Linked DNA regions of Homo sapiens: all the other regions are linked to region 1. Evidence: promoter capture Hi-C in 16 types of primary human blood cells and fetal thymus (Javierre and others, 2016). All regions are on one chromosome and are shown on one strand. Each heading gives the region's core, a stretch centred on a gene start or on the middle of the fragment in contact. The rest is flanking DNA. Distances are from core to core; before and after follow the strand shown.

Evidence for each region. Contacts are between HindIII fragments. The CHiCAGO score rates a contact against its expected background, and 5 or more counts as called.
Region 2: a contact is called between a fragment that was not itself captured here and the fragment with the promoter of FGF9 in region 1, in 1 of 17 cell types (endothelial precursors). The highest score is 5.3, in endothelial precursors.
Region 3: a contact is called between a fragment that was not itself captured here and the fragment with the promoter of FGF9 in region 1, in 1 of 17 cell types (M0 macrophages). The highest score is 5.1, in M0 macrophages.
Region 4: a fragment that was not itself captured here is called in contact with the fragment with the promoter of FGF9 in region 1 in 1 of 17 cell types (M2 macrophages); the score reaches 5.0 in M2 macrophages.
Region 5: a fragment that was not itself captured here is called in contact with the fragment with the promoter of FGF9 in region 1 in 3 of 17 cell types (M0 macrophages, M2 macrophages and endothelial precursors); the score reaches 7.5 in M0 macrophages.
Region 6: a fragment that was not itself captured here is called in contact with the fragment with the promoter of FGF9 in region 1 in 1 of 17 cell types (endothelial precursors); the score reaches 6.1 in endothelial precursors.
Region 7: a contact is called between a fragment that was not itself captured here and the fragment with the promoter of FGF9 in region 1, in 1 of 17 cell types (endothelial precursors). The highest score is 5.0, in endothelial precursors.

What each region holds. Positions count from the first base shown.
Region 1 is chr13:21,669,253-21,672,352 of GRCh38, reverse strand. FGF9 (fibroblast growth factor 9) reads right to left here and starts at 1,280. Exons shown (of 3, transcript NM_002010.3): 1 at 164-1,280. The coding sequence starts at 440. RefSeq lists silencers at 1,293-1,352, 1,373-1,422, 2,203-2,462. The HindIII fragment of the contact is 3,792 bases long and covers 1-3,100 here.
Region 2 is chr13:23,028,874-23,032,043 of GRCh38, reverse strand. No RefSeq gene overlaps it. Among named protein-coding and RNA genes, the nearest start is that of LINC00621, 110 kb to the right of the region's middle. The HindIII fragment of the contact is 4,691 bases long and covers 1-3,170 here.
Region 3 is chr13:23,092,217-23,095,242 of GRCh38, reverse strand. No RefSeq gene overlaps it. Among named protein-coding and RNA genes, the nearest start is that of LINC00362, 77 kb to the left of the region's middle. The HindIII fragment of the contact is 7,712 bases long and covers 1-3,026 here.
Region 4 is chr13:23,308,547-23,311,371 of GRCh38, reverse strand. All of the region lies in intron 6 of SGCG (sarcoglycan gamma), which reads right to left. LOC107984585 (a long non-coding RNA gene) reads left to right here. Exons shown (of 2, transcript XR_001749787.2): 2 at 1-487. Among named protein-coding and RNA genes, the nearest start is that of SACS-AS1, 110 kb to the left of the region's middle. The HindIII fragment of the contact is 6,032 bases long and covers 1-2,825 here.
Region 5 is chr13:23,146,844-23,150,008 of GRCh38, reverse strand. It overlaps LOC124903134 (a long non-coding RNA gene), which reads left to right. Exons shown (of 2, transcript XR_007063719.1): 2 at 1,793-2,283. Among named protein-coding and RNA genes, the nearest start is that of LINC00362, 22 kb to the left of the region's middle. RefSeq lists an enhancer at 2,221-2,390. The HindIII fragment of the contact is 3,996 bases long and covers 1-3,165 here.
Region 6 is chr13:23,328,456-23,331,659 of GRCh38, reverse strand. It overlaps SACS (sacsin molecular chaperone), which reads left to right. Exons shown (of 10, transcript NM_014363.6): 10 at 1-2,830. The coding sequence ends at 1,524. Among named protein-coding and RNA genes, the nearest start is that of SACS-AS1, 89 kb to the left of the region's middle. The HindIII fragment of the contact is 229 bases long and covers 1,369-1,597 here.
Region 7 is chr13:23,179,683-23,182,950 of GRCh38, reverse strand. It overlaps SGCG (sarcoglycan gamma), which reads right to left and starts at 1,972. Exons shown (of 8, transcript NM_000231.3): 1 at 1,876-1,972. The HindIII fragment of the contact is 1,152 bases long and covers 840-1,991 here.

The sequences.
Region 1 (3,100 bases), core at 31-2,530:
TTTTCGGAGCTGGCAAGACAGAGAGAGAGAGAGACAGAGATACAGAGAAAGAGGGGAGGAGGGGAGAACCCTTCCCACGTCCCCCACCCGGCCACCACCTTCTTGGTAGTTATAATTTCAACATGTCATCTCATGGACACTAAAGGGTTAATGGTATACCTACCAAATCGGCTGTGGTCTTTCCTGGTTCCCTGGATAGTACCATTGGGGAAGATTTCTAAGTGAAATCCAGTCCTGCAGTATAGCTGCCTCCGCCTGAGAATCCCCTTTAAATGATCCAAGTCCGTGACTGCGGGTCCCCTGGGGAGCCCCCCTGCTTCGGACTGACCCAGGTGGTCACTTAACAAAACCGGGCTGTCCACCGGCAACACGGGCACATTCCCAAACGGTACCGCATCCTGCACACCGAAATAGTTCCCAACTTCACCTAAGGGAGCCATCAGAGGACTCGGCTTTTGGAGCACAAGAATAAACAATAATGATGGTGTCAACCCAGGAGATATTAGGCGAGGTATATCCAACTCCCCTCCCTTACTGCAGTTGCAGAGAGAGAGAGAAAAAAAAGGTTCTTTTCTTCAATCCATTAAATGCATAAATAAAAGTAATCTGCTGTTTCACTGGCACAGGTTCAAGGTCAAACCACTGATAGTCTAAGAAACCACCACTTTATACTCACACACTGACATATTGATAAACATATCTATGTATCTCTATAGATAGATCCCCAGCTCTTAGCAGGCAGGAAGGTCTTCATCCCATCCGACCGTAATAAGGAAAAAAAATCCGTAGTTTCTCCATTTGGTTTGAGATCAGAATGACCATAGCAACTTAAATGCCTAGGCGTTATTATAGGGATTTTTAAGATGCACGGGCTACGTCAGAATTTACGGATCCTGACTCCAGGAAGGCATGCGCTGTTTTTACTCTCTAACCGACTCTGCAGACATCAGCATGAATCCTTCAAGGGGAAAAAAAAATCTCACGTTGGTGGCGGCGACAAATCTCCCCTCCCGGTCCCCCCTCCAAAAAATGATAATAATAATAAAACAAAAAGAAGAAGAAACTTTAGGCGTCCAAAGCTAGTATCCAGGATTCTCCAGAGGCTCGGCAGATGTCCATTGGCTTAGAACGGGTGGCGAGCGGCGAGCGAGGAGAGCCGCGTCCGGGAGCTCGCGTGCCGCCCAGGCTGCCGCGAACAGGTGTTGCCGCGCCGGCTCGCGGAGCGTTGTAGCCGGGCGGAGCGCTCCTCCTGCGCAGCCCCCGCCGGCGCGCAGAGTGGCGCAGGCAGCGGCATTGGGCTGGGTTTAAGGTAGCGCCGCCGCAGCCCGGGCTCCCCGCGGTCCTAGCGCCCGGCTTACTGCCCGCGCCGCTCTGCGGCAGGCGAGGTGCGGCGCGCCAGAGCGCAGGACTTCCTGGGAGGCAGTCGAGGAGCCCTGGCTTTACAAAGAAAAGCAAATGAAAGATGCACTGCGAGAGGCGGGAGGAAGAAACCCTGAGTCTCCCGAGACTCAAAGTTCTCCTGCAGAATAGAAGCCGGTAACCTACAATCTAGCTGGCTGGCTACATTGATGGAGGGTCAGAGTGAAACTGGGAAACTAGTTTTCACTGGGGCTCTGTAACCTTGCGTTGTATTATAGAATATGACTGAGTTGAGAGAGTCGGAGGGAAGGGGAGTTGATTTAATGGACTCGGATGGCCATGGCAGTTTCTCTTCCATTCTTCGGCCACACACACAGAAGCGCAAACTATGTTTCAGGTAAGATCAACTCCTCTCCCCCGTCACACACACACACACACACACACACGCAGATGCGGCCACCGTTTCTGTTTTGTTTGGAGCGTTCTGCTGGGCATCTTTGGGTTGGGGCTATGTTTAGGTCCCGCCCCGCTGCTCGGGTCCCGGCGGCCGCAAAGCAGTCGGCAGGGGGGCGCCAGAGAACCTTCTCTGTCCCCGACTTCGACTCGGGCGCGCGTCTTCGGGAGTCTGGGTGGAGGGGAGCGCTCCAGTAGGCGTCTTCTCGCCCTCAAACCACGCTGCTTAGGACGAGCGGCGCCATCCCAAGCCGTGCATCGGCTCGGGGAAGCGAAAGGCGAGTTCTGGTGTCTCACTCCACCGTCCGAAGCCCGCCGCGGAGCTGGGAGGGCCGGGCACTGGATGCTTGCGGGGCGCCCCGGGGCTGCAGCCGCTCCTTCCTGCTCTGCCCTGCGGGGCCGCACGTGGAAGCCTGAGCTCCGTTGCGCGGGCTCGGGTTTCTGTTAGCCGCCGGCGGCCTTCGCGCCCAGCGGGAGTCAGGGACAAAGAAACCCGCCTCCGGGGGCCGCCAGGGGCCCTGCCGGGCCGGGCCCGCCAGAGAGACTGGAGGCGGCGCGCTCTGCGCCCGGGACAGCCTGCCTGCGCCCGGATCCCCAGTGGCGGCGGGCGCGGAGCGCGGCGCCCCCCAACACACACACACACACACACACACACACACACACACACACACTCGCCCACAGCCCTCCCGCGGGGCCCCCCTTCCCTCCCCCTGCTCCTCTTTGTTCACATTGTCTTAGAAACGGCCCGACTCTCGGGTCAAGATGGTGAAAGTTGCCGAGACTTGAGCGCAGCTCCACACTGCGGGGCGTGCAACTGAGAAGCAAAGTCGAAAGCAGAGACTGAACCCCTGCGGTGGGGAAGCGAATCAAAACCTGGTTATGGGGGAGAAGTCGGATCCGCCTTAGTAGTCAGCTAAAGGCTGGAGATGCATAACTGGGGCTGGCCCTACTCCGGACGGGAGGGCTTCGCCTGAAGACGAAAGGGAGCGATGAATTTGCAGATTTCGGGGGCGCTGGAGGTGCCAGCGACCTGGAGCGACCTTCCCCTGCCCTCCGGGGAGGAAGGCGTGCTCCGGCCCGGGCGAGGAGGAAGGAGAGAAGAGCGAGTGGTCCTCCCCTCTTCCTTTCCCACCCCCCCTTTGCCGCAGTCCAGGGTCATTGGGTGTCCGGGGCTGGCTCGGTGCGTCTTGCTTACGTGTTTCTGAAGCATGAGAGCCCTGCCCCGTGGTATTTACAGCAGTCACATCCGCGGTGGTACAGAGCGGGCTTTAACGTTAACTGCTCGGCG
Region 2 (3,170 bases), core at 342-2,841, 1.4 Mb before region 1:
AGGGCTGCTACAACAGAGTACTACAGAATGCATGGCTTCAAACCACAGAAATATGTTCTCACTGTTCTCGAGGCTAGAAGTCCAAATTCAAAGTGTCAGCTGCTCCCTCTGAAGGCTTTGGGGAAGGGTCCCTCCTTATCCCTTCCCAGCCTCCGGTGGCCCCATGCCTTATAGCTGCATCACTACACCCCCAGCCTCTGTCTTCACGTTTGCTGCTTCCTTGTGTCTGTGTCCTGTGTTTTCTCTTCTTCTTAAAAGGATACCAGTCATTAGATTTAGGACCCAAATTAATCCGGTATGACCTCATCTTAACTGATTACATCTGCATTACCTTTGGAGATCCTATCTCCAAATAAGGTCACATTCTGAGCTTCAGTGTTGAGAGGAATTTTGGGGGAACACTATTGAACCCTCTATACTTATCCAATTCCTAATTCTATTATGTTTTTATCTATGCTGTAACATGGTAATCTCCTTTGCCTTGGAAGGTGCATGACTTTTGGGTTCCTAGAGACCTGGATTCAAACCCTCCCCTTGTACATGAACGAAGGGCGGTGTAACTACTTTCTTCATTTGTGAATTGGGGAGAAGCAAGAGGTAAGGCACAGAAATTATATAAAAATGAAATTATACTTGATATAAGATTATGCATGGCACATGGAAGGAACTTAAATATTATTTTCCTATTAAAATTTAGAACATTCTGTATTAAAATATTTATTAGAATGATACATAAGTTTGTAGACAGCCTCATCTTTGATAAACCTAGTAAAATAGCATTGGTCCCGTCTAAATAATGACTGTTTTGGAAATCTCACTTTTAAGAAGTTCTTCCTTAAATAAAATGCCTCCTTAAGTTATTTGAACCATTATTAACTGTTCCGCCTCATAGGCTTTTATTGAGGAAATAAAGCACTGTAGTAATTTTTCTTTATTAAATAATTTAAATTTGTAACTGTATAATATGTAATATTTCAAATGAAAATAACATTATATATCAGACAAATGTCACATCAACCAGATTTGACAAATCTGGTTTAACATTTATCATATTTTTACAAATGTTTTAATTATTTTGCTTCAATTTAAGAAAATAAAGATTTACATATGCAGTTTAACTCCACATTCCCATCAGATCCCTTTCTTTTCCTTTTTTCTTTTTTTTTTTTCTTTGAGATGGAGTCTCACTCTGTCACCCAGGCTGGAGTGCAGTGGCGCGATCTCAGCTCACTGCAACCTCTGTCTCCCAAGTTCAAGGGATTCTCTACCTCAGTCTCCCAAGTAGCTGATCTTAACAGGCACACACCACCACAGCCAGCTAATTTTTGTATTTTTAGTAGAGACGGGGTTTCGCCACGTTGGCCAGGCTGGTCTCAAACTCCTGACCTCAAGTGATCCACCTGCCTTGGCCTCCCAAAGTGCTGGGATTACAGGCATGAACCACCCCAACCAGCCCCATTGGATCCCTTTCTTTCCATTCCTTAGTAGGCAGTTACTCACAGAGTTGTTTGTCACCAGCTCACACAACTCTAGACATGAAGTAAACTACTATGTATAAAAAAAAATGTCGTCTATGTATGTACTCAAAAGAGAAATTGCTTTTTAAATGTATGTGACTAGTCTTAGTACACTTTCTTCACATTTTTAAAAATGCATGTTCTGGCTGGGTGTGGTGGTTCACGCCTGTTATCCCGGCACTTTGGGAGGCCAAGGCAGGTGGATTATGAGGTCAAGAGATCAATACCATCCTGGCCAACATGGTGAAACCCCATCTCTACTAAAAATACAAAAATTAGCTGGGCGTGGTGGCACGTGCCTGTAATCTCAGCTACTTGGGAGGGCTGAGGTAGAGAATCTCTTGAACCCAGGAGGCATAGGTTGCAGTGAGCCGAGATTGCGCCCCTGCACTCCAGCCTGGGTGACACAGAGAGACTCCATCTCAAAAAAAAAAAAAAAAAGAAAAAAAAGAAAAAAAAAAAAAGCATGTTCTCTGGACTTTTCGTTTCAGCAACTTCACTGGTCTCCATTGTATGAATGCTATTGTGCCCTTGCCCAGTTCCCAACTGAGGGACAATTATTACAGTCTCCCTTTTCTTCCTGCCTCACAGCAAGTTCTGTAATGAACACCCCAGCATGTTCTCCATATGAATGTGTGGTCATCTCTAGACCTGCAATTGTTGGATTGTTGGATAGTCTCATCTTTAATTTCATGGCTATTACTAAATTGTTTTCCAAAGTAGAGGTATGAATTTACATTCTCACCAGAATAATACAATTGCTGTTCCCACACGTTCTTATCTACATTTGGTACATCAAACTTGTTTTTTTCAATCAGATGACTATAAAATAATATCTTTTGGATTTGATTATAAGAGAGTTTGAACAATTTTTAAAATCTGTTTGTTGGCAGTATAGTTTTCAAGTTCTGTGGATGCCCACTGTATCCCTTGAAAGTATATTGGCTGATACAACATTGGCTAGTTTGTCTTTTCCTTGCCCCCATTTGTATGAGGTTAATAAAACATATATGTATTCTGTATAATATTCCTGTATTGGTCTTGCCTTGCAGATATCTTTCTCCAATCTGTGGCTCATCTTTTCTGGTCTTCACCACAGTTAATAAGCCATCTCCTGGGGCAAGTGTCTTTTTATGTATTTGGATTTCTCCTTTCAGTACTGATTTTCTCTTGGTTTCTCCTCGTGCACTAGAATCCTGTCTTTGTCAGAAGCTGCTAAGTGCCTGTCTTAGTCCATTCGTGTTGCCATAAAGTAATAACTGAGGTTGGGTAATTTATAAAGAAAAGAGGGTTATTTGGCTCACAGTTCTGCAGGCTGCACAAGAAGCATGGCGCCAGCATCTGCTTCCAGGGAGGGCTGCAGCCTGCTTCCACTCATGGCATGGGGTGAAGGGGAGCCAGCCTGTAGAGATCACTTGGTTAGAGGAAGCCAGACAGAGCATGGAGGTGCCAGGCTCTTTTTAATAACCAGCTGTTGTTGGTACTAATAGAGCAAGAACTCACTCACCCTCCCCTGTAATAATCTATTCATTGGGACTCACCCCATGATCCAAACGCCTGCCCTCCCCACCCCCTGCATTAGGTCCCACCTCCAACAGGGATTAAATTTCAACATGAGATTTGGAGGGGACAAATATTCAAACTATTGCAGTG
Region 3 (3,026 bases), core at 87-2,586, 1.4 Mb before region 1:
CTGAAAGCCCTTTCTTAAAGGCATTAAACTCACCCTCATGGGTGGGTTTACAGCCCAATCACCTCTTAGAGGTCCCACCTCTTAATACTGTTACAATGGCAATTAAATTTCAGCATGAGTTTTTGAGAAGACAAACATTAAAAACTAAGTTTGCTCCCTCCAAACATCATCCTAAGTTAGCATCTTCAGGAGACAGAAAAACTGTCCTCTAATTCTTCTGGGAAGAAGTACAGAAGGTCAACTTACAGCAGAAACATGTTCTATGTGACCATCTCAAGGTAAACCTATATTTGCTTTATGTTTTGTTCCTACTTCTCATTGGCTGGAGGGAAAGTCACCTTGTTTGTAGACAGCCTATGTTATCACATTGACACAGTGAACAAATATGGAGTAACTAGGCATACAGTATGTCCCTTCTAAGAATTTCTATGGAGAGAATCACAAAAGACTCTAAGTGTCAGGGCCAAATATTCCAGAGACCCTAATACAGAAGCACAAATAGGAGTGGCTGGCAGGGTCGGATGCACGGAAAAGCAAAAGCTGATAACGGGGCAATCAGAACAGAAGGCAATCCTAGTGCATTTATGGCTTGGAGATCTTGACCCAAATCGTAAAGTTTCCTTGCTTTTATTTTATTTATTTATTTATTTATTTTGAGACGGAGTCTCGCTCTGTCGCCCAGGCTGGAGTGCAGTGGCGCTATCTCGGCTCACTGCAAACTCCGCCTCCTGGGTTCGCGCCATTCTCCTGCCTCAGCCTCCCGAGTAGCTGGGACTACAGGGGCCAGCCACTATGCCTGGCTAATTTCTTGTATTTTTTAGTAGAGACAGGATTTCACCGTGTTAGCCAGCATGGTCTCATCTCCTGACCTCATGATCCGCCCGCCTCGACCTCCCAAAGTGCTGGGATTAAAGGCGTGAGCCACAGCGCCCGGCCGTTTCCTTGCTTTTAAATAGGTGAAATAAGGGTGTTCATATCTCCTGGAGAAAAGTATAGTTCCTTTTCCCAAAGGAGATGCGGGGTGTATACCCTCCTCTGTCTCCAGATATAAAAACATGGCCTTTAGGAGAAGAAGATGTCAGAGTTTAACATGATTGTAGTTTTCTGATCAGACTGACTGCATCCAACATGTTGATTGTCTTAGAGACAGAAGAAAGAATCTCTTTCAGCGCATAGGTTCTTGGAACAGTGGGTTCTGGATTGAGGATTTTAAAAAGGCAGATAAAATAGGGAATTCATGCTTAGAAAGGGACTTTAAATATATCCTAACCTGCAGTAGATAATACATTATTTTCAAAAAATGTCATGACCCAATTGGGAAAGAGACATGTAATAGAAATTACAAATTATGGAATAATACTCGAAGACAATCTTCATGGGTGAAAGACTGGATATGGTTGATACTTACTGTATCAGCATCCTCAGAAGACAAAGGATAGGGAGAGAATTGGCCGGGTGCGGTGGCTCACGCCTGTAATCCCAGCACTTTGGGAGGCCGAGGCGGGCGGATCATGAGGTCAGGAGATCGAGACCATCCTGGCTAGCATGGTGAAACCCGTCTCTACTAAAAATTACAAAAAATTAGCCAGGCATAGTGGCGGGAGCCTGTAGTCCCAGCTATTCAGGAGGCTGAGGCAGGAGAATGGCGTGAACCCGGGAGGCGGAGCTTGCAGTGAGCCGAGATCGCACCACTGCACCCCAGCCTGGGCGACAGAGAGAGACTCCGTCTCAAAAAAAAAAAAAAAAAAAAAAAAAAAAAAAGGATAGGGAGAGAATTAAGCTCTGAGGGCTCAATGAATCCGTTTTGTGTCAAGAGTAAATAAAAAGATCTTGCTGATATGCAAAAAAGTTAAGTACAGACTAGTTTAAAGGTAAGAGTGGGAGGAGTTACTGATGCCCAGATTATCCTAACAGGGGGATTGCTGTAGAGTTTAGGCGTGAGGTTATTTAAGATTTGGGTCTGGGAAGAAAAAGTGTATGATGAAAAACTCATAAGGGCACTCCTTTCTCTTGAGCCTTTGCTCTCCAGAGAACTGAAGGCTGCTACCACTTCCTCATAATAAAATCCTCACTAACAACCCTTGGTCCTGACTGAAATTTCCCTATGTTCTTCCTCAAGGTCCTGAACTTCCTTTATTTTGTTCCAAGAGTTTTGTATTTATGCTTTATTTTTGTTGTCAAAATTCATGCAGTAATTAACTGGGATACAACTTTAATTAATGATTGGGGTTGCTGACTTATTCCAAAGAGCCACTGCTTCAGAGGCTGCCTCAGTAACATCAGGAATGCTGGGATGCCCGTGGAAGACATTTCCACCTTTCCATACCAGCAGCAACAAAATTTCCTCCCTTATTTTGTTAACAGTTCATTTGAGTCCAGACCATCCTATTGTTTCCACAAATGGGGCTCGGGCTTGTCTGAGAGTGGCCCCAGCACTGAGATCATGAGCTCATCGTTCAAACTCCCTCTTGGGTAGAATCTGACCTTGGAATATTCTCTGTACGCATGATTTGGTTTGTATCCTATTTGTCCTTTTGAGATTATGAACATTGTAACAGTCTCTAATTTTCACTTCCTAAGGTTTTCGGCCACTCAAGGAATAGTCAGTTTCTCTGGTGGTGATATTCATGTTCTATACGCCAAGATCTCTTGATGGGCATGCGCATTTAGCGTTTGAGGTTCTGATAGGTGAGTGTAGCCTCACCTTCAGGGGTAACTTATTTTTCTATTTCCTACAATTTTCTTTTCTTTTCTTTCTTTTTTTTTTTTTTTTTACCATATGTTCTCTATTACAAAAATCAGTTTCTTCTGAAATTACAACCCTTACAGCCATACTGCACGTATACATCCAAAGCTGGTACCACTTTGAAAGTGTGGGACTTCTTTAGACACTTGAGTCTCATTTCTCATGTTGTATGAGACTTCCTGCAGGACTATCTTTCACAGTACAGTAACACTGACGTGGAAGATTTCATTGTTATGTTCATGGCACTAGACATGATAAAAAGGTGTATTAGTCCGTTGTC
Region 4 (2,825 bases), core at 21-2,520, 1.6 Mb before region 1:
AATTGAAAAAGAACATGAGTTTCTGAAACTGAAGAACTGAAGAAGTTCACTGATACTCAAGTATAAACTAACACATACCAGACACCGTGGTGAAACTGCAGATGGCCAACATTAACAATAAAATCTTAAAAGAATTCAGAATGAAAATCACATGATCTCTAAAGAATCAAAAGTGCACTAATGAGTAATATATTTTAAAATACTCGTGTAAAATTATTGTCAGCCTAGATAGAAATCTGGCTCAGCCTAACCAGCACTTGACTATAAAGGAAACTGGACATTTCAGACACAGGGAACAAATGTACAATCTATAGATCTTCACCAAAAAATGTACTTATGGAAATTAAATAAGAAGAAAAGAATGTTTCCAAGAAGAAGCAGTGGACATTACAAAATGTGCTGGTAAAGCTAAATAGATATGGCCTGAAAAAATAAAGCAGGGAGATGAATAAAAGCAATGCTGAAATAAAACCACAATGAAAGGGAAGTTTGGATGGAAGTGACTAAGTTTTTAAAAATATTATTTGGGAAGAAGGTGGTATTGATGTAGACTTGGTTGACAAGTATTAATTTGTGTCTGTGCATATAAACAAAAGACAATCATTGAAAGAATAAAAATAGAACTATTGGGGGAAATATGGGTGGAGAGGAGGAAAAGTTTATTAATCCAACAAAAAAAGAAAAAGGAGAAAAAATGAAAAGAAAAAGCATGGTAAATAAAACAAAATGATAGAAATGTGGCAAATAAACCAGTTACCATAATAAATATAAATGGGCTAAATTAACCCATTAAAAGAAAATCTCAAACCAAAAAATTTGAAACATAGAGAAACAACTGAAACATAATGCTGCAAACATATTGAAAATAAAACACTTGGAAAATGTAAATCAGTGCAAAAGAAAGTAGGACCAGGTATAGCAATTGTAATACCAGACAAAATAAGGGCAAAAGGGTAACATTACTTATGATTAAAAGGAAGAATTCAGGCCCGGCGCGGTGGCTCACGCCTGTAATCCCAGCACTTTGGGAGGCCGAGGCGGGCAGATCATGAGGTCAGGAGATCGAGACCACCCTGGCTAATAGGGTGAAACCCCGTCTCTACTAAAAATACAAAAAATTACCCGGGTGTGGTGGCGGGCGCCTGTAGTCCCAGCTACTTGGGAGGCTGAGGCAGGAGAATGGCGTGAACCCAGGAGGCGGAGCTTGCAGTGAGCCGAGATCGTGTCACTGCACTCCAGCCTGGGCAACAGAGCAAGACTCCGTCTAAAAAAAAAAAAAAAAAAAAAAAAAAAGAGAAAAACAAGGCAAAAATACTAAGTATATAGAAGATGTTAACAATGTAATTTGCAAGATTGACCTAGTAGCCGCTTACATACAAACCTTGCATTAAAGCAAAAGATAACATGCTTTTAGCATAAACATTTATGAATAATTATGAATAATTATATGCTCATAATGAGTAACAAGGAAAAATTTCTAGCAAGGAAACAACCAAAATGGACCTGAAGATGTACAAAACTTGAAAAGAGAAACTTCATTAAATACATTGAAGTGGAAGTGTAAATAATCCAACTTCCCCAAAATGTACTGGCTCTTTCATTTCATATGTGAGTTTACACCAAACCTTTGATTGCTCTTACACACACTGTTTGAAAGAAAAAGGAGAGGTGGGTACTTAGACCAAAATGGAACTTTCTTAATTTGATAATAGGTATTAATATTTACCAAAAACCTATAGCAGACATAATTTCATTTAAAAAATTTAGAAGCATTTCTCAAAGTCAGGAAGTAAACACAGATGTCCATCGTTACTCTTTCTAGCCAACATTTGTCCCAGCCAAAGTAACAATACAGGGATCTGAGAAGTAAGAAGTATAATAATAAAAAGGATGACTCTTTTTTCGGCACTATCATCATCTTAATGGAAAAATCAGTTGAGTTCTACAATCAAAATATTAAAACTAAGCTGGGTATGGTGGTGTGCATCTGTAGTTCCAGCTACTTGGGAGGCTGAGGCAGAAGGATCATTTGAGGCAGAAGGATCATTTGAGCCCAGGAGTTCAAGGCCAGCCTGGACAATATAACAAGACCCCATCTTCCTCTTTCTCTCTCTCTCTCTCTCGGCATATGTATGTATTTTTATATACATATATATGTAAACTAATAACAATGATCAGTAAAGTTGCTGGCTTAAAAACTATCATGAAAAAATCAATAATAATCACTTTGAAAATTTAACAGAAAAAAGAACCCATTCTCAATAGAAACAAAAACTATAAACACCCTGGTAATGAATTCTAATAATTATGGGCCAAACCTAAATGGAGAATATCATAAAATATTAAAGGACATATAAAAGGCTGTGTGAATAGAGAGATATACCATATTTATGGACAAGAGACTTCACGATTATAAAGGCATGAATTCAGTGTAATTCCAATAAAAAAAAACCAGGAGAGTTTTTCAAAAAACCTGAAAAATTGATTTTAAAATTTACATGAAAAACAGTCCAGGCATGGTAGTTCACACCTGCAATCCCAGCACTCTGGGAGGCCAACGTGAGTGAATCACTTGAGGTCAGGAGTTTGAAACCAGCCTGGCCAACATGATGAAACCGCGTCTCTACAAAAATACAAAAATTAGCTGGACATGGTGGCATGCACCTGCAATTCCAGCTACTCAGGGCGCTAAGGTGGGAGAATCACTTAAACCCAGGAGGTGGAGGCTGCAGTGAGCTGAGATCATGCCATTGCACTCCAGCCTGGATGACAGAGTGAGACTCTGTCTCAAAAAAAAAAATTACATGAAAAATAAATGTCTAAAA
Region 5 (3,165 bases), core at 153-2,652, 1.5 Mb before region 1:
AACATGATATATCCATACAATGGAATATTATTCAGCAATAAAAGGAATGAATTACTGACACATAATACAATATGGATGAACTTTGAAAACATTATACTAGGTGAAAGGAGTCAACGACAAAAGATCAGATAGTATAATTAATAGACATAATATGAAAAATAGACAATTAGGGGCTAATAAAAATGTTCTAAGTTGAGAGTTTGGTGCCTGCTGCATAACTGTGAATATAGTAAAGCCTTTTTCATTCTGTACCTTAAATGGGTGAATTTTGTGTGGTATGTGAATTATATTTCAGTAAAGCTGTGAAAAATGCATATACATAAAAATATTAGCTTTTGTTTTTCTCTCATGCTCCAGTGAGTTGCAGAAGTCAGAAAAGAGAGGATCAGGAAGCCATCAATTCTGCTTTTACCTGTACATTTTTTTCTTATTCTTTCTTATTTAGTTAAAACGAAGTAAGAGTCAGCTCTCAGGTCATTTCCGTAAAATCCATCCCCTTTCTTATTTGTTTATTCCTTTGATGATGTTCAAGGTTCCTTTTTTTTTCCCCTTCAACACTATATTTTATAAGACTGTCTGCAAGCCAAGGGCTCTTCTTGTACCTACATTTGTATGTAAATTGGTACAGGTGATGTGTTAAACTATAACTTTAAATTTGTGACTTTAAATTTCAGTTGAACATCATGCTGTGATGAAAGAACATTGAACTTTATGCTAGAGGTCCTGGTTAATCCAAATTCTATTCTTAGATCTAACAATCTTTTCTGTGGTAACAGCTACCTCTGTGGGCCTAAGGCTTTTCATCAGTGACTGAAATGCTTGTTAAAAAAAAAATCCCTAACACTAATTTTTTTAAATTGATGTTTAAAAATTTCCTTTCTCTATTTTTTTCTTCTCAGCTTTTTTAGTATTCAGGAATGTGTTACAAGAAAGGCTAAAGGTTTGAATGGTCCTGTGTTTCTTAACTGTACAACATGTGGGCTCACTGCACCTGAAATTACTATAGTTCTAAATGTCAATGATTCTGAATATTAATAACTTTCAATTATGTAAAGACCACATAGTATAAGGTTAGGGGGCCCTCTGGGTGTAGAAACTGTGGGTTCTGATCTCTTTCTATTTGGTCATTGTATGATCTTACGACCTATGGCAAGCTGTATAAATTCTTTTTTTTTTTGAGACAGTTTTTGTTCTTGTTGCCCACGCTGGAGTGCAATGGCTCAGCTCACCACAACCTCCGCCTCCCTTGTTCAAGCGACTCTTCTGCCTCAGCCTCCTGAGTAGCTGGGATTACAGGCATGCGCCACCACGCCCGGCTAATTTTGTATTTTCAGTATAGACGGGGTTTCTCCGTGTTTGATCAGGCTGGTCTCCAATTCCCGACCTCAGGTGATCCACCTGCCTCAGCCTCCCAAAGTGCTGGGATTACAGGCATGAGTCACCGCGCCCAGACTGTAAATTCTTTATGCTTCTTTTTCCCCGTCTAAAACATGAGGGTAAAAATTAAGATGTAAATGATAGGAATGTTTTAAGAAATAAATGAATTAAGGTATGCAAAATATAGAACACAATACCTAGAATTTAGTAAGTTTTTTTTTTTAGAAATGCCAACATCTTTTCTTTTTTTCAAATTACACTTGCTAGTATGGGCCACTTTTCATTGGCTCCTCCAAAGGAAAGTTAATATTAAAGCAAGTTATGTAGGTAATTAATTTCGAAAAAATTCCTTTAATGTTTTATTAGAAAAATTAATGTTTGCCCTTGATTTTTTTTTTCTCATTTAAACATGTAGTGCCCATATGGAAGTGCCGGGAAGGGAAGAGCATGGCCCCTTTAAATGATACTGAAGGGAGAAAGGAAGTGCTGGGTAGAGGAAGGAGTGACCCCTAGCTAGGACTCCACCCCCACGGACCTAGGTGAGGACAGATGAGACCACCCTGGCCTGCCACGCCCCCATCCTGTGCCTAAAAATCCCGAGACCCTGCAGGCAGACACATAGGCGGCTGAACAGCAGGAGGAGCACATCAGCAGAGGAATACACGGGATGTGGAGAGACAGGTATTGGCATGCCAGCAGGCCACCAACCACCGATGGCAGAAGCAGAATGACGCCTGCAGGTCACACTGATGGACAGAAGCAGAACCATGCGGAGTTTGGCTGGGGCAGCCGAGGAGAGCCCAGGATGCAGAGTGGCCCAACTCCAGCGGAAAACTATCTTCCTTCTGGCTCCCTTATCTGCTGAGAGCTACTTCTACTCAATAAAACGTTACACTCATTCTCCAAGCCCACGTGTGATCCGATTCTGGTACACCAAGGCAAGAACCTGGGATACAGAAATATCTCTGTCCTTGTGATAAGGCAGGGGTCTACTTGAGCTGACCAACACAAGCTGCCTACAGATGGCTAAACTAAAAGAGCACCCTGTAGCATGCCCACTGGGGCTTCAGGAGTTGTAAACATTCACCCCTAGACACTGACTTAGGGTGGGAGCTCCACAGCCTGCCCATCTGTATGCTCCCCTAGCGGTTTGGGCAGCGGGGCACTGAAGAAGCGAGCCACACCCCTATCATCCGCCCTGCGAGGAGGACAAGGGAACTTTTCTGTTTCCGTGTCAAAAAGTTCCTCAAGACAAAACCTGATGAAACTATTCAATAGAGACTTTATGAGCCTTTAGACTCAAGGAGAACTGTTTCTGGGCCTGGGTAACTAAGTAACACAAAATCGGGGAGTAGCTCCCCACTACCTGGGGTCAGAAGTTGTGGGAGAATCAGAGGCAGGTCTGTGACATGGTTAACAGCAGGCTGAGACGGATGGGTAGACGCATCACAGTGACTGCAACAGACGGTTTTCTTTGGAAGCATGAGTGTGCAGCCCTGAAGGCTGTCCAAGAAATAGCTGCTGATAGTTAATGCATGGCAAAGGGGGATTTAAATCTCCTTACAAGTTGTAGCCAGTTTATTTTTGAGCTATATATATTTGGATCTGAGTATTCATGACTCATCTCTCTGACTGAAACCTATGCGTATATATTAAAATCTCAAAAGCAGAAGTTTGAGTTACATAAAAAGCAGACTTTGATTTCACAATAATTGTCAGACGCATGGTTTGAAAAAGTGGCTGGTGAGGATGACAGGACACATCCTGAAAATATTAGCAGTGAGTTTT
Region 6 (3,204 bases), core at 234-2,733, 1.7 Mb before region 1:
TTTGCTTTTTTGAAGCGATTTGGTAATGCAGTCATCTTGCTCTACATTCAACATTCAGACAGTAAAGACATTAATTTCCTGTTAGCATTGGCAATGACTCTTAAATCAGCAACTGACAATTTGATTTCTGACACTTCATATTTAATTGCTATGCTAGGATGCAATGATATTTACAGGATTGGTGAGAAACTTGACAGTTTAGGAGTGAAATATGACTCTTCGGAGCCATCAAAACTGGAACTTCCAATGCCTGGCACACCAATTCCTGCTGAAATTCATTACACTCTGCTTATGGACCCAATGAATGTTTTTTACCCGGGAGAATATGTTGGGTACCTTGTTGATGCTGAAGGTGGTGATATCTATGGATCATACCAGCCAACATACACATATGCAATTATTGTACAAGAAGTTGAAAGAGAAGATGCTGACAATTCTAGTTTTCTAGGAAAGATATATCAGATAGATATTGGTTATAGTGAATATAAAATAGTTAGCTCTCTTGATCTGTATAAGTTTTCAAGACCTGAGGAAAGCTCTCAAAGCAGGGACAGTGCTCCTTCTACACCAACCAGCCCCACTGAGTTCCTCACCCCTGGCCTGAGAAGCATTCCTCCTCTTTTCTCTGGTAGAGAGAGCCACAAGACTTCTTCCAAACATCAGTCCCCCAAAAAGCTTAAGGTTAATTCTTTACCAGAAATCTTAAAAGAAGTGACATCTGTGGTGGAGCAAGCATGGAAGCTTCCAGAATCGGAACGAAAAAAGATTATTAGGCGGTTGTATTTGAAATGGCATCCTGACAAAAATCCAGAGAACCATGACATTGCCAATGAAGTTTTTAAACATTTGCAGAATGAAATCAACAGATTAGAAAAACAGGCTTTTCTAGATCAAAATGCAGACAGGGCCTCCAGACGAACATTTTCAACCTCAGCATCCCGATTTCAGTCAGACAAATACTCATTTCAGAGATTCTATACTTCATGGAATCAAGAAGCAACGAGCCATAAATCTGAAAGACAGCAACAGAACAAAGAAAAATGCCCCCCTTCAGCCGGACAGACTTACTCTCAAAGGTTCTTTGTTCCTCCCACTTTCAAGTCGGTTGGCAATCCAGTGGAAGCACGCAGATGGCTAAGACAAGCCAGAGCAAACTTCTCAGCTGCCAGGAATGACCTTCATAAAAATGCCAATGAGTGGGTGTGCTTTAAATGTTACCTTTCTACCAAGTTAGCTTTGATTGCAGCTGACTATGCTGTGAGGGGAAAGTCTGATAAAGATGTAAAACCAACTGCACTTGCTCAGAAAATAGAGGAATATAGTCAGCAACTTGAAGGACTGACAAATGATGTTCACACATTGGAAGCTTATGGTGTAGACAGTTTAAAAACAAGATACCCTGATTTGCTTCCCTTTCCTCAGATCCCAAATGACAGGTTCACTTCTGAGGTTGCTATGAGGGTGATGGAATGTACTGCCTGTATCATAATAAAACTTGAAAATTTTATGCAACAAAAAGTGTGAAGATATTTAACGAAAAAAAAGGTAGATCTTGAATGTGTTGTAGCACGAATAAATTGCTGTACTTCATTAAGCTTCATTGCCAATTAGCTAGGAATTGTTAAGCACATTGCAGATTGTTCTTGGAGAATTCTGGAGTTGTTATGAACATGAATACCAACGGAAAACCTTAACTGAATCTAAAAGAAAACTATTTTGAAGATGGTGGTGAGCTGCAAAATAGCTGGATGGATTTGAATGATTGGGATGATACATCATTGAACTGCACTTTATATAACCAAAGCTTAGCAGTTTGTTAGATAAGAGTCTATGTATGTCTCTGGTTAGGATGAAGTTAATTTTATGTTTTTAACATGGTATTTTTGAAGGAGCTAATGAAACACTGGACATATAATTGGTTTAAACATAAGGGGAATTAAGTCTTTGTAGTCTGTCATTTTTTTAAGTGGATCCTCTTGGATGCGTTATTTTCTCATCAGCTGGCTCTGATCATGAATTTGTTGTAATTTTATGTTGTACTCAGTGCATTTAAGAAATGGTAGAGTATTTTAATCCTATTACTTGACTAAGAGTGTGAAGGTAGTACTTTTTAGAGTGCACTGAGTGCACTTTACATCTTTATTTAAATTTTTTTTTAACATCTTATGTTTACAGGCTTCCTGTTTGATGAAGATAGCAACGGAAAACTCAAAATGGTGGCAGTTCTTATTACCAGTTGTTAGTATTGTTTCTGGAAACTGCTTGCCAAGACAACATTTATTAACTGTTAGAACACTTGCTTTATGTTTGTGTGTACATATTTTCCACAAATGTTATAATTTATATAGTGTGGTTGAACAGGATGCAATCTTTTGTTGTCTAAAGGTGCTGCAGTTAAAAAAAAAACAACCTTTTCTTTCAATATGGCATGTAGTGGAGTTTTTTTAACTTTAAAAACATCAAAAATTGTTAAAATCATTGTGTTATCTAGTAGTTTATAATTATCGGCTTATATTTCCCCATGAATGATCAGAACTGACATTTAATTCATGTTTGTCTCGCCATGCTTCTTTACTTTAACATATTTCTTTTGCAGAATGTAAAAGGTAATGATAATTAGTTTATATAAGTGTACTGGCTGTAAATGATGCTAAATATACTTTATGCAATTAAGGGCTTACAGAACATGTTGAAACTTTTTTTACTTTTATTGGGAATAAGGAATGTTTGCACCTCCACATTTTATTGCTTCTGGATGTGAAATCATGTAATTATTTCTGCTGTTATATAAAGTGCCATACTTTTAATAAAGGAAAATGTACATATGAAATCATCGTAATGGGTGTTTCCTGAGAAATAGTTCATTGGAAATCAAACTTAACATCTTAATATTAAGTTTTAATGTGTGTGTATGTGTGTATTTATTGGAAATATTAGGAAAATATTTTCCTGTATATTTTCATGCTGGAATTATAGATTTTTAGGATTAATAGAATATGAAGTGCTTGTTATATACTAGGTTTAGGTGCTCATTGATTTAGTTGAGTTTATGTCACCTTTTTAGGGAATCAGATTAGCTGATATATGTGGTATATATGTGTTTGGAAACAGATACATTAAATATTTTTTTCCTCTAGGTAGAGCTGAATTGATATTTCCATTGCCTCAGGGACAGCTGCATGTCTGGGACTAATTCACACTTTA
Region 7 (3,268 bases), core at 166-2,665, 1.5 Mb before region 1:
CTCTTCACTGCCGCCTCCACTGCCCTTAATCCATTCTCCATGTCAACTGCAGTGATCCTTCCAAAGCACCCATGTGACTGGGCTGCTCTCCTTTTCTAGAGGTTCAAAGGTCTCACTGGTGCTTAGGATGAAGCACAAACGCCTTTGGGCACAGCAAGCCCTCCTGTCCCCATTCCTCAGTGGTCCTACCCACCAGTCATACTGAAGTCGAGCAGGCAGTGAGATTTTCACAGGTTCTGAGAAAAGTCTTGAGACCTTTACCATTCACAAATTACTAAATACTCCTGTACCAGTGTTCCCATAAAACTATCTACAGCATAACATATAAAATTAAAAATGAAGCTGGAATCCAAAATGGCCAAAGTAGCAAGTGATGGATCCTGCAATCCTCATGAGAACGTCGTAGAACTATCTGGCCCTGCAGTAGGTCTGGAGAAGAATAAAGCCAGACAGGTGCTATAGAGGCTGAGAGAAGGGGAGGGAGGGAGGGAGAGACAGGAAGGTGTCATGAAGGTCAAGGTGGGTTCTGAAGGAGCAGGAGAGTAGCAGAGTCATCCTCAGGACGCTGTAGTTTCTCCCCTCCCACTGGGAAACCACAGCCCTGGTGCCTCAAGCTGAGAAGACACAAGCGCTGTGATGAGCCACAGATTAGGGAGTGGAGGGAGATCCTCAGGCCCTATAAGTTATGCAAAACTGAACACATTGGGAACCCACTATAATTTACAACTATCATTTAATTTTTAATGCAATTTAATAACAACTTAGTTTAATGACTAGCAAGTACATTTTTTAAAGGACAATATGGAACAATTTCATTTTCCGCATTTTAACTGCAAGCTTAGCTGATATCTTTTGGACACCTGAATTTGTTAGTCTTTGGAATGCTATATCTAACTACATTGAAATGCTACTTTTCATTTGTCTTTGAAAGACAATCTGAAATGAATCCTAGAACCTATAAAACGAACCCCAACTTGTAGCATTACTTTTTAAATTCCACAAAGGTGCCTTTTTGTACCTACAAAATGTTTGCAAGAAAATAAGCAAAAAACAAACGGTGTATTCCGTAGTTCGTTTTTGTACTGGTCTGCTGGCAAATCTTTCAGTCAGCTGAGTTATATTTTTCCGTATTATTTTTTTCTAATCCTTCCTTTAAAAAAATTGTGTTTGCTAGTTGTCATGTATTAATTTAGAAAACGCAAAGAAAGAACTCATAACTTCAGTAAGCTGAAGCATTAGCACATGTGTACTTTTACCCCACTTATGTTTATTTTTTCATACATATTTTGAGCAGTATTTTATATTTTCCAGATTTAGGGAAAGAAACATTCTTCCCTTTTCACTCCAAAAATAGTGAAGGAGTCAGGTTGCTATTTTGCTCTTGTTTTGTTTATTTCCAACTTATAAAACCACTGGACTTTTGTTGTCATTCATTTTAGTTTATTTCTTAGTGTCTATAACAAAACTATCAAGAAAATCTAAAGCAAATGTAATTCTACCACTAAAGTTTAAGAGCAGAATTAGAAGTAGGTGATCTTAAAGATAATACTTTGTTTAAATTAACTACAGGATCCAATTCAATGCCCAATAATACAGAAATGCTACCTTTGGCATTCTACAAATTAAAAATGTTAGAAATATAGGATTATGCTAAAAATATGTAGCATATTTGTAGTCAGAATAACTTAGTTGAAATGAGAATTTCATTGATACTTGATATGTCATTATGTTGTGATACACCAATTTATTCAACATTATTTTAAATTTATTATTATGCCACCAAAGAAGAAAGAATATTAAGAAACCTCTTAAGCGTTTGGTTTTTAGGTAGTACTTTGTACTGATATAAAATCTAAGTTAAAACTGAGCACTTACCTTAGATATTAAGAAAAGCACACTGGCGAATGAACTACAGCTGGCCCGAGCTCTACCACAGACAGAATGTTTCAAACTTTTCTATGACTTACAGAATGAGAGCAAAGGATGAAGCTTCAGCAACTGTCCCTGGAGAAAGGGCTCTCACGAGTTTCGCCCTGTCTCATGTTTCATCCCCTCACATTAGCAACAGACGTGTCTAATTTTACTCAGTGACATAAACAGTTCATACCACACTTAAAATTTTTTGGGCACCAATTCCAGGACACAGCTCTTCGCATGCCAAAAACAAACCAAAACAAACAAACAAACAAGAAACCAAACTCTTCTTCTTACAAAACCAACTTTCCAACATTTAAACCCTAAAGCATGATAGTTTAATGTAATTATAACTTTCTTAAAAAAACTTTACCTCAAACAAACAGCAGAAAACTTCTAAGACTGGTTTCCATTAGAAACTAATGTTGATAAAATTTTACGAAAAATCTCTTCAAATTAACATGCAAGTTAGAACTTGTGACTATTACCTATATACTAGTCTCATCCAAATGAACGGCATATTACCATGTAACAGTGACTCTTTAAAAATCACTTTCCCTAAGCCTCTTTAAGTGAAAAACTTTTAACATCTGAGGAGAAAATCTTAAACAAAGATCACCATAATAGAAGGTAAACAAACTCTGCATGTTAAAATTATGACAGTTCTTTTCTAGTAAACTAACATTTCTATTGTGTTTAACAAATTATGTGAATGTAACAAATGTGACCTTAAATTGTCTTTATGTTTATTTAAGAGTAATTAGGTCATTCCATTTTATAAGGTGTAAAGACAACAGAATAAATATCGAACTTCTGAATAATTTTAATATTTTATTTTGCATTATTTTTATGTGACCTGGTTTGCAGCAGGATTAAAACTTACTAAATTATATACTTCATATTTGCATTTTAGTACTAAACCTTGAATATAAGAAGCAGTGCCTTAGTATACATGCACACAGAGATGGGAACAATCAGATACTGGGGCCTGCTTGAGGAAGGAGGGAGGGAGAAAGGTGGGGTTCGGAAAACTGTCTATCGGGTACTGGGCTTACTACCTGGGCGATGAAATTATTTGTACATCAAATCCTGGTGATATGCAATTTATCTGTGTAACAAACCTGCACATGTACCCCTCGAACCTGAAATAAAAAATGAAGAAAAAAAGGAGCAATGCAATAACAATGCATATGCTTCATTCTCATTTTATTTTCTTCTCAGGAGACTTTTCTCTTCATTCTGCTTATTTATACTCTACCATAATTTCTTTTGAAATTTGATACTTCTATCATACCAGCAGCTGCAGGCCTTAAATTACAAGCTGATACAGCTTCAAATAATCTTACATTTGTAA